2 separate regions of the Homo sapiens genome follow, and region 2 is linked to region 1. The links are contacts of gene promoters, found by promoter capture Hi-C in blood cells and fetal thymus (Javierre and others, 2016). All regions are on one chromosome and are shown on one strand. Each heading gives the region's core, a stretch centred on a gene start or on the middle of the fragment in contact. The rest is flanking DNA. Distances are from core to core; before and after follow the strand shown. Region 1 holds the start of CNN1 (calponin 1). Region 2 holds the start of ZNF823 (zinc finger protein 823).

Region 1 (4,838 bases), core at 1,827-4,326:
GGCCTCGATATGGGATCAGCCCCCTCTAATGCCTCTACCCCCATCTACCAGACAGAGACGCGAAGAGAGACGGACAATACAGCGACAGCGACATGAAGAGAAACAGAATGACTCAAAGACCAGGCACAGAAACAGAGACACAGAGACAAAGGCAGAGACAGAAAAAGGCTCAGCGACCCAGAGACGGAGATACAGAGACACAGACCTACTACAATCAGAGGGACAAGGCAGTCCCCGAAAGGGCTGCCCCCTGGGGGTACCCGGGGCTGCCCCGTTGGGGGGCACGCCAAGAGCTCCCCCACCCCGCCCCCGTCGTGCCTGGGCCGTGACTTCAGAGTCCGTGCAGATTCTATAAATGGCCAAGAGGCCGCGGGCCGGGGGGCGGGGCCGAGTGAGTCATCGCGTGACGTCACCGCCGCCTGGACCTCGCCAGGTCCCGCCCCCGCCCCTCCCGGGCCGCCAGGGGGCGCCGGCTGCAGGTCCTCACATGCGCAGTAGCGAACTGCGGCCCCCGAGGGCCGCTCAGTTTGGGAGGGATCCAGGAATCTGCGCGTTCGAATCCCGCCCCTGCCACCCTCGAGCTGTGTGACCCGGCCATTCGGCGTCACCTCTCTGTGCCTCGTATAGACCCACCTCATAAGGCTGTCGTGAGGAATGAGTTAACAGGCTCAAAGCTCTTAGTACGTAGCAGGTGCTAATTGTTAGCTCATTTTATGTACTTTCTATTTTTTCTTTTTTTTTTTTTTAAATAGAGACGGGGTCTCGCTATGTTGCCTAAGCTGGTCTCGGGTCTCGAACTCCAGGGCTCAAGCGATCCTCCCGCCTTGGCCTCGTATTTTATGTATTTTCGTGTATGTTCAACATATCATGACATGCCATCAACTAGCACATTGCCTTAGCTCAGTGGTTGGCAAACAGGGGTGATCTGCTTCCACCCCGACCCCAATCATGGGACATTGGCAATGTGTGTAGACATTTCTTCTTTTAATTTTTCTTTTTTAGAGACCATGGTCTTGCTATCTTGGCCAGATGGTTCTCAAACTCCTGGGCTCAAGGGATCCTCCCACCTCAGCCTCCTTAGTAGCTGGGACTACAGGGTCCTGCCGCAGTGCCTCAACATTTCTGTTTATTAGGACTAAGAGAGTGCTACTGGCATGTAGCAGGTAGAGGCCAGGCATGCTGCTTGAAGTCTTACAATGAATGCCCAAGGCAGCCCCCCAACCATGAAGAATTATCCAGCCTCAGCTGTCAACAGTGTGGAGGTTGAGAAACCCCACCTTAGCCTCATAGTTGAGGTTCATGGAGCATGGTCTCAAATTCTCCTCTGCCCCTGGCCTGCTGTGTGACGCTGAAAAAGTGATTCCAAGCCCCCGTGCCTCAGTTTCCCCACCTGTAAAGCAAAGTACTTGTATTAATAATAACAGTGTCAGCTGGGCACGGTGGCTCACGCCTGTAATCCCAGCACTTTGCAAGGCCGAGGTGGGCAGATCAACTGAGGTCAGGAGTTCGAGACCAGCCTGGCTAACATGGCAAAACCCCGTCTCTACTAAAAATACAAAAAATAGCCAGTCGTGGTGGCAGACACCTGTCATCCCAGCTACTTGGGAGGCTGAGGCAGGAGAATCGCTTGAACCCAGGAGGTGGAGGTTGCAGTGAGCCGAGATAGCATCACTGCACTCCAGCCTGGGGAATAGAGACTCTGTCTCCAAATAATAATAATAATAATAATAATAATAATAATAACAGTGTCCATCTCTGAGGGCGTCATGAGAATTGAATGGATATATGTACAGAGTTGGAACATGGCCTGACATAAGGGCTGTAGTCTGTGGCATATTGCAGCCATGCCATTAGCATGTGACCGATAAACTGCATATCCTCAACATATCATTAGTGTGTGGCAGGTTGCAGACATGTCATCCAAGTGTCACAAACATGGCCTTGCCATGTGGGGCATGATGTGGGCATAGCATCCACCCCTGTGGTCCAGGGGTGAGATCTGGCTGGGTAGGGCTGTTTGACAGGGACACAGTTCACGGCCTGGGACTTGCCAACAAAGTCACCCTGTAGTTCAGGTGACACACAAGTGGATGGGGAGGGTGAGACCCAGGATCTCTTCTCCCCCAGGTCCTTATGAGGGGCTGGAGGAGACAGAACTGGGGTGCTGGACCCTCAGCATAAAGAATGCTATAGGCTGGGCATGGTGACTCATGCCTGTAAATCCCAGCGTTTTGGGAGGCCAAGGCGGGCAGATTGCTTGAGCCCAGAAATTTGAGACCAGCCTGGGCAACATAGCGAGACCCCGGGCAACATAGCGAGACCCCATCTCTAAAAAAATAAAATAAAATTAGCCAGGTTGGTGGCACAAGTCTGCAATTCTAACTACTTGGATGGGCTGAGATGGGAGGATCACTTGAGCCTGGGAGGTCAAGGCTGCAGTGAGCTGTGATTGTGCCACTGCACTCCAGCCGAGGGGACAGAGTGAAACCTTGCCTTAAAAAGACTGCTATGGCCCGAGTCCCTCTGCTGTGCCGGGCACTGTGCTGGGCATGTAACAGGCATATTCTTCTGATCTTTACAACTCTCCCATGAGGCAGGCACTATCGTTAGCCCATTTTACAGATGTGGCCATAGAGGCCCAGAGAGGAGAAGGGGCTTACCTAAGGCTATAGACTGTTGGTATCTGGAGATAAACCCGGGATGGTGCTCACTAAACTACCTTGGGTGTCAGTCCTGCTTCAAGACTCCAGAGAGATAAAGAGAGATGACCTCAGAGACAAAGAGACTCAGACCCAGCCAGAGGCCCAATGGACAGTGGGAGGGGTGGGTGGAAGAAGGCTGGTCTCTGTCTGACCAAGCCCCCCCAGAATAACGCAGGCTGCCCCCCTAGGTGGAAACAATGACACAATCAGCTCCCAATACCAAGGGCCTGACATCACAAGGGGAGGGGAAGGCAGCTGAGGTTGTGGGGGGAGGTGCCCCGCCCCTTGGCAGGCCCCTACAGCCAATGGAACGGCCCTGGAAGAGACCCGGGTCGCCTCCGGAGCTTCAAAAACATGTGAGGAGGGAAGAGTGTGCAGACGGAACTTCAGCCGCTGCCTCTGTTCTCAGCGTCAGTGCCGCCACTGCCCCCGCCAGAGCCCACCGGCCAGCATGTCCTCTGCTCACTTCAACCGAGGCCCTGCCTACGGGCTGTCAGCCGAGGTTAAGAACAAGGTAGGGCTGGAGGGCCTCCCTGGCCTGGCCCACACGTCCTGCCAGGCCAGAGCCCTGAGCTTGGGGTCCCTTGAACCCCCTCCTGCCTATCCTATGTGACTTGGAAACTGAGAGGGGAAAAGGGAGTGATATGGGATAGGGGCTGCCTGTCTCCCCCTGAACATCCCGGAGCCCCCAGCTATGGTTGGGGCTGGAATGGGGGGGCACACAGCCACACATAAACAGAGGGGGTCAGTCCATTGCAAAGATACCCACCTGATCAGTCTTCTGTTAACCCTTCGTGTTCTTGGGGGGAACAACATAGGGGGAAGACTTGTTGATTTTTCCATATCCCCCGGCCTGACAAAGAAATTGGGGAGCGCTTGAGTGCTGGGGTACCTGGGAAGTGACGCCGTGAAAGTGTGGGAGATCCTGAAGACAGAGGGGGACGGTGAAAGGCAGGAAGCGGGCATCAGAAGTGCGGCAGGGGTCTCCTGACTGTGGAGCTAGGAAGATACCTGGACACCACCTTCATGCTATGGTTGGGTAAACTGAGGTTCGGAGAGGAGAGGCAAATAGCTGGGGTCCCAGGTAAAGCAGGTACAGCGCTCGGACCCTGGACTCACCCCCCATACACCAGGATGGGCTCAGCTTCTCCCAGCTGGAGAACTTTAAGTTTCCAGCCCACTGGAATCGCCCCAACAGTATTGCCGAGGGAGGAGTTCCTGCCCCATTTGACAGAGGGGAACACTGAGGCTCAGGGTGGCTTTTCCCAGGGTCCCATGGTGAGGAAGTGGGGGACTGGGTTGGAACCTGGGTCGAGGGATCTCGGGGCTGGAGGAGGGGGCTGGTGGGGGGCGGGTCCTCGGGCGAGAGACAGATCCCAGCGCCGCCCTCCTCCCCCCCAGCGCCGGCCCCAGAGCCGCGCAGAGCCGCGCAGAGACGCCGCGCCTTATAAGGCGGCCTCGGGGAGCCCGGGCCACGCTATATAAGGGCCGGTTTGCTTTATAAAGCCGGGCTGGTGGCGTGGGGGGCGGCAGGGCCAGGGCCAGGTGAGGGGGCCGCCCCTCCCACCTCCCCCCACTCACCCGGGAGAAGAAGAGGCAGCCCGGTCCCCTAGGGGCTGGGAGCCTGGCTGGGCTTGGGCGGAGGGTTCTGGAGAAATGGGAGTGGAGTGGGGGAGGGGGGGGACAGTGGAGAGAGGGAAAAGCAGGGAGGTGGGGGGAGAGGCAGACAGAGATACTGGGAGCCTGAGACACCCTAGGGACAGACGGGGGAGGGCGAGCCAGGAGCGAGATAAGACCTAGACAAGGATGGAGGGGCAGGGAGAGGAGACAGAGCCCCACCACCCCCACCCCAGGCAGGAAACCTGGAGACAGAGAAAGACCTAGAGAGGCAGATATACAAGACCCAGGAGCCCTACCCCTGGCCAGACAGGGACTAGCCACCTAGAGAGATGGGGACCCAAGACTGGGCCAAGAAAAGACAGCGCTGGGGAAGAGAGAGACAGAGGAGTCGGGGGGATAAGAGGGAGAGAGACATACAGACGTGCAAGGGGTGGGGGCTAAGACAGAGACAAGCCCCCACCACTAACCAGAGACAGAGCCCTGGAGCTGAAGACCTGGGGGACACGGAGAGACAGA
Region 2 (5,407 bases), core at 247-2,746, 200 kb after region 1:
CGGAGTTCCTCCATGTTGGTCAGGCTGGTCTCGAACTCCCGACCTCAGGTGATCCGCCAGCCTTAGCCTCCCAAAGTGCTGGGATTACAGGCGTGAGCCACCGCGCCCGGCTTTTTTTTTTTTTTTTTTTTTTTCACACTGGAGTCAAGTGGTTATTCTTTGCTTCCTCACATGTGAAATGTTCACAAACACAAAAACACATCTTTTAAAAAGAGCCATACATTGCTATGTGAAAAGAAAGTGACAATTAAAATAATGCCTCTGTTTGAAATATTGCCTGAGGGACAAAGAGTTCATAAAGTTGCTGGGAATTGATGAGAGACAGTTAGCCTGGGGAAGGCTCTGAAAACCAAGAGATTTGCTGCCAGCCCTAGGAGGAGTTAGGATGAGGGGATAGGGTGGTGGATTTGAGACCCTGCTGCCCACATCTTTGGAAGACTCGGAGGGAAACCGGTCACCTTTGGGAAGAAAGAAGGGACTGGGGAACCCACAGATCACAGCTTCTCTTCCAAAGCACAAAGCCCACACACACGAGTCTGGATTCTGCCTGGTGACCCTCCGTTGTCACCGTGCAGCGTCCTCACCGGGTTCACAGGAACTGCGAGCCAGGCTGGAGGCGAGATTGCAGTTAGATATTAACCAGGTGCCCTCAGCCCCGCTGCCTCACGGGGCCGCCTCCCTGAGAGTCAGGTCACAGCAGACGCTGACCGCCGGCTTCCTCATCGTGCCCGGGGATAAGATCTCTTGAGAGTTGCTCACGGGTCGCCTCAGTTCTTTCTCGGATCCTGAATTGCAGCGGAAAGGCTGGCGCCAACCAGGCTGAAGACCCCACAAGGGAACCCACTCAGCAGAATGCGGTTTCTTCACCTCCAGTCCCAGGAGTCACCTCTCACTTCTCCACCAACCAGCGACCCCACACTCCAGCCGTCCCTGTCCACACCTCTAAACACCCCATCCCCAAACCTCTCAGGGAGGCGGATCTGGGGTGTCCTCCCCTCTCCCCCATTAAACTGTTTCTGCTGCAGCCTTCGGCGTCTCGGTGCAGTGACTCGGGCCGTGAACCTGTGCCGGTTACAACTGCACAATCTGGGGAGACGCGGAGCTGCGGGCGCGGAGCTGCCCAGAGAGGGCGCCGGGGCCGGGGCCGCAGCGGCCGAGCAGGGACGGGACAGGACGCCCGGGGTCCCGGCTGCCGCCCCAGCCCCATCTTGCGGCCCAGGGGACCAAGGGCAGAGCTGCGCCAGGGGCACTGGGATTTGCAGACCCCGGAGTCGCCCAGGGCGAGGCCCGGGTCCCCTCACGGTCGGTTCCGGCCGGTTCCAACCTGCCCCTTCTTTGCCTCGGGACGCCGGGCCCCGCACACTCACCATTTCCCAGCTTCCAGGTGTCCGGGTGTCCTCCTTAAAAGCCAGTGTGGGTCCCAGCGCGACAGACGCTGATACAGACCTTCCAGGGCGTCTCTCTCTCAGCGCCAGAGCCAGGACTCAGAGCGCAGGGGCGTGGAGAAGACTCCGCGGGCTCTTTGAACGTCGCACCCTCCTCCCTGCAGCGTGCCTGATTGACAGTTCTCACAATCCCCGCCCCCTCATCCCTGATTGGATAGTGCTCCAGGTCCCGCCCCTTGGTGGCTGATTGACAGAAGAAGCGATCTCACAGTGCTGAGTGGAGCCGGATGAACAGGTTCCAGGCACGACCCTTGGCAAGGCGGGCTTCCTCCCAACGGAGTGACCTGACCCCTCCCGAAGTGACGTTTGCATTTTAGAATTTCCTGATTGTATTCAGTGGGTTCTTCCTGCTTTTTCCTCCTGGACAGGGACTCACAAGTGTGTGCAGGGAATTCCAGGCTCCCTGTCCAGTGGAGCCATTCCCGGACCTCGGAGCAGGAGGGGAGCCCGGGGCACACAGGCCACCCTGCAGCAGGAGGGAGGGCCTGATGTCCTCCAGGGATCAGGAATTTGGGATGAGGCTGTTGGCGACGTTGCCAAGCCTTTCCCTCACCTTATCTCTCAATCTACTCATTTTCAGCCCAGAAGATAAAAACAGGACAACAAAATAAAATAGTTGAGTATGTGGAAAAACTGGAATTATATGGCAGCAATATTTCATAAAGAATCAAAAGAGAAGAAAAGCAAAAACTTGAACAAGCTCAGAGAAGCAGCCTACTGCACTCACAGTTCACAAGCAGACCCCCTTTCAGGAGGTCAAACATATCCCCAAGCTGGGAAGCCAGGCAATGATTCCTAAAATGGAGCTCCGGGGTGGATCAGAAGCTGGTGATAAGGGAGGGACAATTAAGAATTTTACTCTGAGGTCTCAAAATACCTGTCCCCTCTGCACAGCGTGGAAATGCTCCCTCCTTATGCCATTAAATGTTAATGAATTAAACGCTCCAATCAAAAGCCAAGACATCACACTTTGAATTTGAAAACATTAGCCTTTCTCCATATGTTTATGAAGTAAAAATACTAGACTTAAAAGCGTTATGGCCGGGCGCGGTGGCTCACGCCTGTAATCCCAGCACTTTGGGAGGCTGAGGCGGGTGGATCACCTGAGGTCGGGAGTTTGAGACCAGCCTGACAAACATGATGAAACCCCGTTTCTACTAAAAACGCAAAATTAGCCGGGTGTGGTGGCACGCTCCTGTAATCCCGGCTCCTCAGGAAGCTGAGGCAGGAGTATCGCTTGAACCCGGCAGGCAGAGGTTGCAGTGAGCCGACATCACACCACTGCACTCCAGCCTGGGCAACAGAGCGAGGAAAAAAAAAAACTCCATCTCAAAAAAAAAAAAAAAAAAGCGTTATGAACTAGAAGCTGGTAGCCATGGCTAAATAGAAAGGAGCTGAACATGAGATGTCAATAGATGAAATGAAATCTTCAATCAACTTCTAGAAACTATAGCATTTTCTGCCAGGACAAATGGGCACGTTTAGAAAATGAATGAAAAAAATGACGTCTGAGTATAACCTAATGCATAAATGATACTGTTTCCTTAAAAAAAAATAATAAGCACACACACAGACACACACACACACACTCCCACAGTCTATTATGCTAGAAACTGCTCTCTGAAGGATAAACTACTATTTTATGAAATGCTCCACCCCTCACTCCTCACATTAACTGCTCCTGGAACAATGTTCTATTTATTTGTTTCCACACATATTAAAAGAGGGCACAATGTATCAAACTAACTGATTGTCAGGGGTTTATATACAGATTCTGTATATTTTTACAAATGGCAACAAGTAAGTAGTTGATTTCTGCAATGATTTAAATACATATAAAAGCTTCCAGACAAAAATAGCTGTTCGCATTACCATGATGAAGGAAAAATCAACAATGGTGAGACCCACACCCCCTCCCCCAGAGAAAGTATAAAAGAAATCCTAAGAGAAGCTAGAAAGCCCAAAATTTGTATGTGCAAGTTTAAACACAATATAGAAAGTATTGCTGTTAGTTTCCTCACAGTCAGTTCTATGGCAACACCATGCTTTTCTGAGTTAGGATGTTTATTTCTGAGTTTGTCTTTTTTTTTTTTCTGAGATGGAGTTTTGCTCCTGTTGCCCAGACTGAAGTGCAATGGTGCAATCTCGGCTCACCGCAACCTCTGCCTCCGGGTTCAAGCAATTCTCCCACCTCAGCCTCCTGAGTAGCTGGGATTGCAGGCATGCGCCACCACATCTGGCTAATTTTATATTTTTAGTAGAGACAGGGTTTCTCCATATTGGTCAGGCTGGTCTCAAACTCCTGACCTCAGGTGATCTGCCTGCCTCGGCCACCCAAAGTGCTGGGATGACAGTTGTGAGCCACTGCACCCGGCTATTTCTGAGTTTTTTAAAAGAAAAGGAAACACAACTCCTTCCCCAACCCTCTGTCACGAAGATATCCTCTAATATCTGCTGCTAAATGTACCATTTCAGTGTGAGTTAACTTTAATGCATGCAGTAAGGAGCTCAGTTCGTGTTTCTGAAGGTCAATATTCAACTTCCTTAGTAGCTTGTTGAAAAGACTTTCCCCTTTAATTTATCTTGGCCTATTTGTTGAAGATTAATTAACTATCCATGAAGAGTGTCTTAGTCCATTTGTGCTGCTATAATGAACTACTGCCAAGTGGGCAATTTATAAAGAATATTAATTAGTTTTCTCGTAGTTCTGGATGCTGGGAATTCCAAGATAAAGGTGCCAGCACCTAGGGAGGGCCTTCTTACTGCATCTTCTGGAGGGAAGGAACACTGCATCCTCACAGGGCAGAAGACAGAAGGGCAAGAGAGGGCGAGCCCCATCCATCAAACCCTTTATAGTGGCATTAGTCTATTCATGAGGGCTCTGCCAAAAGACTAAAAGTCCCCAACTCCCAAAATTGTGGTGCTGGGGATTGAGTTCTCACCTATGAATTTTGAGGGGACACAAACATTCAAATGATAGCAAAGGGGGTTATTTCCGGACTCTCAATTCTGTCATATTATTTCTGACATCTTCCCAGTAAGTCTGGCTACTATACTACCTACCTGATGATGGAGAGCCCCACCCCATTCCTGACAGTCAAGCATGACACATGACTGTCATGCACAGATAGAAACGGTCCTAAAGCCACAGGAAGATCTCCTAGACACCTCCTTGGATGACCTAGACTTACTATCATTTTGAGAAGGCCTCTCTTAACACAATTGTAGGGAAAACATAGTAACTGGTTTTGCCATAATTTCTCCACATGAAACAATTGAGGCATACTCTTTACTCACTGTAAAATCAGCCTGAGCCTCTAGCTCATTGCTCTTACTAGATCTCGAATGTTGGCAAAGGGGAAACTGCCACCATTGACAATGATTCCAGATATGCTTTGGGAGTCTTTTTTGCCATTGGCACAATCTGAAAATCCTTTGCATTTACAACTTGTTCTGGTACACCCATTGCCAATGAACATACATAACTGGGGCACTATTACAGGTTGTTCACCTCTCTACTAAAATGGCTATTGTTCACTGTCTAGCCCATACTAAGGAGACTTCTACTACATCTCTGGGCATTAAAAGACTGCTAAACAAGGCGGGGCACAATGGCTCACGCCTGTAATCCCAACACTTTGGGAAGCTGAGGCAGGTGGATCACCTGAGGTCGAGAGTTCAAGACCAGCCTGGCCAACATGGAGAAAACCCATCTCTACCAAAAATACAAAATGAGCCGGCATGGTGGCGCATGCCTGTAATCCCAGCTACTTGGGAGGCTGAGGCAGGAGAATCACTTGAACCTGGGAGGTGGAGGATGCAGTGAGCTGAGATCTCAACATTGCACTCCAGCCTGGGCAATAAGAGCGAAACTCCATCTCAAAAACAAAACAAAACAAAACAAAAAAAGACTGCTAAACAGGAAGCCAAAAATGGCACCTTATCTCCGCTGAATTCACAAA

Evidence for each region. Contacts are between HindIII fragments. The CHiCAGO score rates a contact against its expected background, and 5 or more counts as called.
Region 2: the fragment with the promoter of ZNF823 here is called in contact with the fragment with the promoter of CNN1 in region 1 in 11 of 17 cell types (total B cells, erythroblasts, non-activated CD4 T cells and 8 more); the score reaches 13.5 in total B cells.

Annotation. Positions count from the first base shown.
Region 1 is chr19:11,535,775-11,540,612 of GRCh38, forward strand. It overlaps CNN1 (calponin 1), which reads left to right and starts at 3,077. Exons shown (of 7, transcript NM_001299.6): 1 at 3,077-3,216. The coding sequence starts at 3,154. RefSeq lists silencers at 175-244, 255-624, 4,053-4,102 and an enhancer at 2,048-2,993. The HindIII fragment of the contact is 23,519 bases long and covers 1-4,838 here.
Region 2 is chr19:11,737,450-11,742,856 of GRCh38, forward strand. It overlaps ZNF823 (zinc finger protein 823), which reads right to left and starts at 1,497. Exons shown (of 4, transcript NM_001080493.4): 1 at 1,368-1,497. The coding sequence starts at 1,370. RefSeq lists enhancers at 871-1,000, 1,391-1,470 and silencers at 1,071-1,220, 1,481-1,675. The HindIII fragment of the contact is 8,001 bases long and covers 1-3,285 here.